Regions from separate parts of the Homo sapiens genome. Here region 2 is linked to region 1. Evidence: promoter capture Hi-C in human tissues and cell types (Jung and others, 2019). All regions are on one chromosome and are shown on one strand. The core of a region is centred on a gene start or on the middle of the fragment in contact, and the rest is flanking DNA. Distances in the headings are between cores, read along the strand shown.

Region 1 (2,960 bases), core at 128-2,627:
CTGAGTAGCTGAGACTATAGGCGCATGCCACCATGCCCAGCTAATTTTTGTATTTTTAGTACAGACGGGGTTTTGCTGTGTTGGCCAGGCTGGTCTCGAACTCCTGACCTCAAGCGATCCATCCCCTTAAATCATGTAAAATTTCATGAGTATGTGCCATGTGCAGTTTTCTGTGAAGAAGATCCTTAATCTTCATCAGATTCTCAAAGCGATCTATGAGCCAAATTTAAAAAGTAAAGACCCATCAGCCCCAACTATGATTTCTCTTCCAGAAGCTGGCCTTCTCAGCTCTGGCTTGACTTACTGGTATAGTGTGTGGCTGGCTTTGGAAAGAAAAGGAAACTCTATTTACATTATCTGTATCCCAGCATCCTCACCTCTTCCATGAGTCTAGCTGAGTAAGAGTTTGGATGTTAGTTCCCATCTTTTCCTGTGTATTCATTATAATGCATGGAACTATGAGAGTAATTCCCATGTTAAATGTGGCCAGAGAGGTCGGCAGACCAAGGAGCAAGTTACTGTCCTCCCAAATTACCATTACACTTCCACAGAAAGTCCTCTAAAAACTTGCCACAGACATTACCAAACTGTCACCCTTTATTGTTCCAAGTCAAAGCAGACCAAGTACACCTCAATACCAAAGCTTTTCTCCCAGAAAAAAAAAAAAAAAAAAACAGGAACTCAGAGTCGGCAAAGACTCTCCTAAAACATCTGTCCTGGCCAGCTCTTCATCTGGATCGGTGCTGACAGAAACAGAAACGCCAGGGGCCGGAAATGCGGCCAGCGCGATGCCCCTCTGTTCTGGGCACCGTTTATTCGAATACCCCGTCAGGTATCATCAGGTGTCACTCAGGAAGGAGACACGCCCTGCCTGGACTGCCGCGAACGCTGAGCGTTACGGGGTACGTGGTGGCCCCTCAGGTTACCGACCGGGTCGGTTAGATTCCAGAGGACAAAAGGCAGGGAACAGCCTGGTCTTGGGGTCTTTAAACAGAGAGGCGCCATCTACTGCCGAGAACCCAGTCAACATCTCATGGACAAAGCTGCACTAACCCCCGGCCGGCTGAGCTCTGGGCCCCGTTAGCCTTTCTTTGAGGCTCGTCCACTAAAAGGCAGCCCCAGTAGTCCCAGCTGAAATGCTCCACACCCGAGCCCCGCTGGCCTGCGGAAGCGAAGACTGACAAGCACTCTGTCCGCGCGCTGAGTGGGGGCTCGCGGCACCGGGTGCTCCGCCCAGGCCCCAGCACACTCACTCACCAGCCTGGTAGCTCGGTACGGCCCGGGCCCCACGATGCGATGCTCCATGGCGCGTAGGCAGCAGCGGCCGCAGCCGCGCCAGCGCTGATCCCCGCCAGCCGGAGGAGCAGCAGTTTGAATCCCAAGCCCGCGGGCTGCGGGCGCTGATTGGGCGGCGCGGCAGCACGTCACCGGAAATGCGCGGGGAGGCAGGCGTCTTCTCCGAGACCCGCGGCGCTGGGAGCTCCGCGTGCGAACTTGCCCGGGGCGAAATCTGTTGCCCACCCTGGTCCCACCGTGCGAGCACACCTAGGCAGGTGCGACTAAGGGGCCGGGGGCGTCTCCCCAGCGCTGGAAAACGCTGTGCAGCGCCCTTCCCAGATTTCTGCGTCCGCGCAACACAAACACACGCAACGCTATCTCTACAAAAGGGTCAATAATAGGTGTTATCCAGCGACCGAAACCCAGCTTTGGGCCGCGTGGATAAATACCTGTCCTCCCTACCAAGTGCACTGTGAGCCTGGAGGTGCTGCTAACGCTGGGAGAAGCGGTAGTGAAATGAAGCGAGGCGACAGCTTTTACCAGTGTAGGGACATTTAAAAACGGGATAGAGAGCACAAGGAGCGTAGACAGTGTGTTAAGGGCAATAAAGAGCGGGAAGGGAGCCCCGATTCCTCTTCTGTTTGTTCTCATGATAGTCTTTTCCCCTTTAATTTGAGTTCTATGTTTTGTATTGGGCTGATACTTTTAGTCCTCGGCAATAGGGTTGTGAGTCCTTTTTTGACTGCTTAGAATTTTCCCCCTGGGAATTGCTAGTCCGATTTGCAATCTTTCAGAGGGACAAATGAAGTAACTCCATATACTTAGGACTCTGTACACCTACTCAAATTTGGTCATCTCGGTAAGTACCCAGGACAAGACGTTGAAGGAGTGAAGGTGTGCCATTCCAAAATATGCCTAATTGGTATATTGATTATTTCGAGCGGAAAACATTGGAGAAATGGTAGTTTCAGAAAGGGCAAGCTGACCTGCCTCTTCGATGCAGCAGGCCACAAAGATTTCTCTGGGATGGGCATCCTCTCCCTACCACGGTGAGAAAATAGCCTTTATCACCAAAGGCTTGGAATTGAAGGCTGCAGTGGACCTGAATAAACATTCTTAACGAAGTAACCCTATCTTCCACTAGGAGATATAGGAGATTTTTTACATATATCTTCTAGTGACTCCCTAGAAAATGTTACTGCCTTTGTGAGCTGTGGAAGTTAACTCGAGTCACAGGGCACCAAAATATGTTAGCAGCTGCCCATATCCGAGACACGGCCCCAAAGTATGTTACAGGCAGTGAATTCCTACAGATCTGCAGCAACCTCAATTCTTGACTCCTCAGAAGAAAGAGTTCGACTGAGGGGCATAAGGCAAAAGGAGAGACCAAGGCAAGTATTAGAACAGAAGTGAAGTTTATTAAAAAGCTTTGAATGAAAGGAAGTACACTTGGAAGAGGGCCAAGCCAGTGACTTGAGAGATCTAGTGCGTAGTTTGACCTTTTGACCTGGGGTTTTATACGTTGGCATACTTCTGGGGTCTTGCTTTTGGGGCTTTGCATTACTTCTCTCCTGATTCTTCCCTTAGAGTGAGCTGTCCACAGGCGCATACTTGAGCCCACTTGCCCAACTCCTAAGATCTTATCGGGAAGCTGCTGATCAACAGTTCAAGTGTTTTCTATT
Region 2 (2,960 bases), core at 188-2,687, 320 kb after region 1:
GCCCTGTCTTATGGTGGTGATTATGGATTATATTTTAACAATTAGATGTGTGGCTAACAGATTTGTGTTTTAAAAAAGACTTATGGCTGGGTGCGGTGGCTCACGCCTGTAATCCCAGCACTTTCAGAGGCTGAGGCAGGCAGATCACAAGGTCAAGAGATCGAGACCATCCTGGCCAACATGGTGAAACCCTGTCTCTACAAAAAATACAAAAATTAGCTGGGCGTGGTGGTGCACGCCTTCAATCCCAGCTACTCAGGAGGCTGAGGCAGGAGAATCGCTTGAACCCAGGAGGCAGAGGTTGCAGTAAGCCAAGATCACGCCATTGCATTCCAGCCTGGCAACAGAGCAAGACTCTATCTAAAAAAAAAATATATATATACAGAGGTAAAATGATTTACCTTTGGGATTTAAAAGTATTATAGACACATATATATTTGGCACCCTTTTTATATAAAATTCAAAAAGGACCAAAGGCGGCAGAGGAAGGGAGTGGTATGTTATATAAGATGAAAAAGCAAAAGACTGAAATTACAAAACTATATATTGGGGGACATAAGGCTAGTTTCAAAGAAATCCTGTTGGATGATTGCTTTCATTGTATGCGTATTGAAATTATAATGCATTTCTGGTAGGTGGCAGCCATGTAGCATGAAAGCTGGTAAATAACTATGTGGTTGGAAAACTATGAGATAACTGTCAATAGGGAATTTGAAGCTTTCTTCTTTTTTCACTAATTTTGCCTTCTACCACACTAATATATTGTCTTGACAGAGTATATTTCTTAAGGTGGAGATAAATGCTTGAGTAATTACTATGCTGTCCTCCGCTATTGTGGTAGGAGTCTGTGAAACAGTTCTCTCCCCAAAGCCTGAGGATCCCAGATCAAGTGCCTCTGTTTTTTAATCATCTGAATGTCATGTAAAGTGGTCAAAGCTTGTAGTTTTAGGCATCAACATGGCTTATAAATCTCGATAATAATTGAGTCTCAGTTTAAAGGATTGGTAGGTTGTTCGTGCCTGTGTAACCTTGACCTCTCATTGTACCCTTGATGTATCTGGGATATCCAGCACCTGGTGCCTGGCCACACTTGGTAAGATCAGGCCTATCCCGAAGAAAGTAGTCATCCTTAGTATTCTCAGGGGATTGGTTCCAGGCTTCACAAGGATTCCAAAATCTGAGGATGCTCAAGTCCCTTACTGTACTCGTTTTCTCTTCTTCATTTTTAAACTCAACATTTGCCTCAAATCAAAAGCATATTCCTTTCTCTACTTTTCACTCTTGCTTTTTTCTATTCGAATGAGATAGAGGTAGGCGTCAAACAGCTTACAATAGGTAGTAAGTTCTAAAATAACTGATTATGTCCTAATAAGATGATTTTGGAATAAGACAAATTCATACTGATGTTATGTTGACAGGGTATATTAGGGCAAAATAAACACCTCAGACTCAGAGAATTAAGCATGGGAGTCCTTTCTGTATTAATCTAAATTTAAAAATCTTTGTAGAAGCTTTGAACTAAAAATGTAAACAAATAGATTATTGATTCGGGTTTTCTTTGGGCACACTTTTTTTTTTAATTAATTGACTTTTGCTAAATTAGATAACTTTGTAGAATGTTTGAGACAAAAAAATGAATGTATGATTTTATGTGAAATTTCATTATGTAAAATTTCAGAAAGCAAAAGTGTGGGTTTTCAGTGGTGTGGTGGAGCCAGCTTGCACCAGCCCGTTAGAACTGATTGGAAATTTTGTAAACTAGTTGTTAAATATAAACATTAGTAAAAATTGAAGTAGCTGGGCAGGGTGGTATGTGCCTATAGTCTCAACTCTGTGAAACACACAGGCAGGAGTAGAGGATTGCTTGAGCGCAGGAGTTTGAGTTTAGCCTGGGCAACACAGGGGAGACCCTGTCTCTTTGTATTTATTTATTTATGTTTTTTTTTGCGATGGAGTCTCACTCTGTTGCCCAGGCTGGAATACAGTGGCTTGACCTCGGCTCACTGCAACCTCCACCTCCCAGGTTCAAGAGATTCTTGTGCCTCAGCCTCCCGAGTAACTGGGATGACAGGCATGCGTCACCACACCCAGCTAATTTTTTTGTATTTTTAGTAGAGATGGGGTTTTGCCATGTTGGCCAGGCTGATCTTGAACTCCTGACCTCAAGTGATTCGCCCACCTCGGCCTCCCAGAGTGCTGGGATTACAGGCGTGAGCCACTGCATCCTCATATTAACTTATTTAATTATAAGTACATACAAAGGTAGTAAATACTTAAAACTCAGTACTTTCTAATTAGCTTACTACATTTTACTGTTATCTATGCTCTTGAGGTTATTTATGCCTATCATATTTATATGGTAAAATAATATATAATGGCTGGCTACCGGGTGTGTCTTCCTAACTTCACATTTAGTGACATCATGTTAGAGCCTGAACTTAGCCATAAAAGAGTATTTATTTAAACCACAGGAATTGGCAAATGCTACAAATCAGGGCTTAATTTATTCTTTTGTTGATTGTGCTTAAGGAAGTGATAGAGAAAATGTTAATGCATGTCGTGTCTATAGTCATTATATTCTGAATTTCACAAAAATTAAGGAAACAGTCTTCCAATATTCAAATAAGTTTAATCCAATCAGTATTTATGTTGGAACTGTGCCCAGAAGATTATTAAACATTTATCATTATACCACTGGTTTAAGTTCATCAAATTTTATTAATGTTTTAATTAACAAATTAGAATTTAACATAAGTATTTTAAGCTATATAAATGGCAATAAAATGTATTTTTATTTATTCAATACCAGTTTACCACTTAGAACATGAGATGTATTTATGCATTTATAATAAAATGTAGTTTGTAGTGTTCTTAAATTTGTATATTCTCATTCACCTCTATATGGAGGTTCCCTAAGTGACTGATAAAAGTAATGGAAACTTTAAATAAAAACAGTGACA

Evidence for each region. The method cuts DNA at HindIII sites, captures the fragments that hold promoters and counts their contacts. A contact is called where the count stands out against the background at its distance.
Region 2: a fragment that was not itself captured here is called in contact with the fragment with the promoter of DEPDC1B in region 1 in 1 of the 25 tissues and cell types used here (lymphoblastoid cells).

Annotation. Positions count from the first base shown.
Region 1 is chr5:60,698,789-60,701,748 of GRCh38, forward strand. DEPDC1B (DEP domain containing 1B) reads right to left here and starts at 1,378. Exons shown (of 11, transcript NM_018369.3): 1 at 1,258-1,378. The coding sequence starts at 1,305. LOC124900982 (a long non-coding RNA gene) reads left to right here and starts at 1,452. Exons shown (of 2, transcript XR_007058779.1): 1 at 1,452-1,553; 2 at 2,866-2,960. The HindIII fragment of the contact is 4,370 bases long and covers 1-2,960 here.
Region 2 is chr5:61,015,822-61,018,781 of GRCh38, forward strand. The region is part of intron 1 of NDUFAF2 (NADH:ubiquinone oxidoreductase complex assembly factor 2); the gene reads left to right. Among named protein-coding and RNA genes, the nearest start is that of NDUFAF2, 72 kb to the left of the region's middle. The HindIII fragment of the contact is 4,704 bases long and covers 1-2,960 here.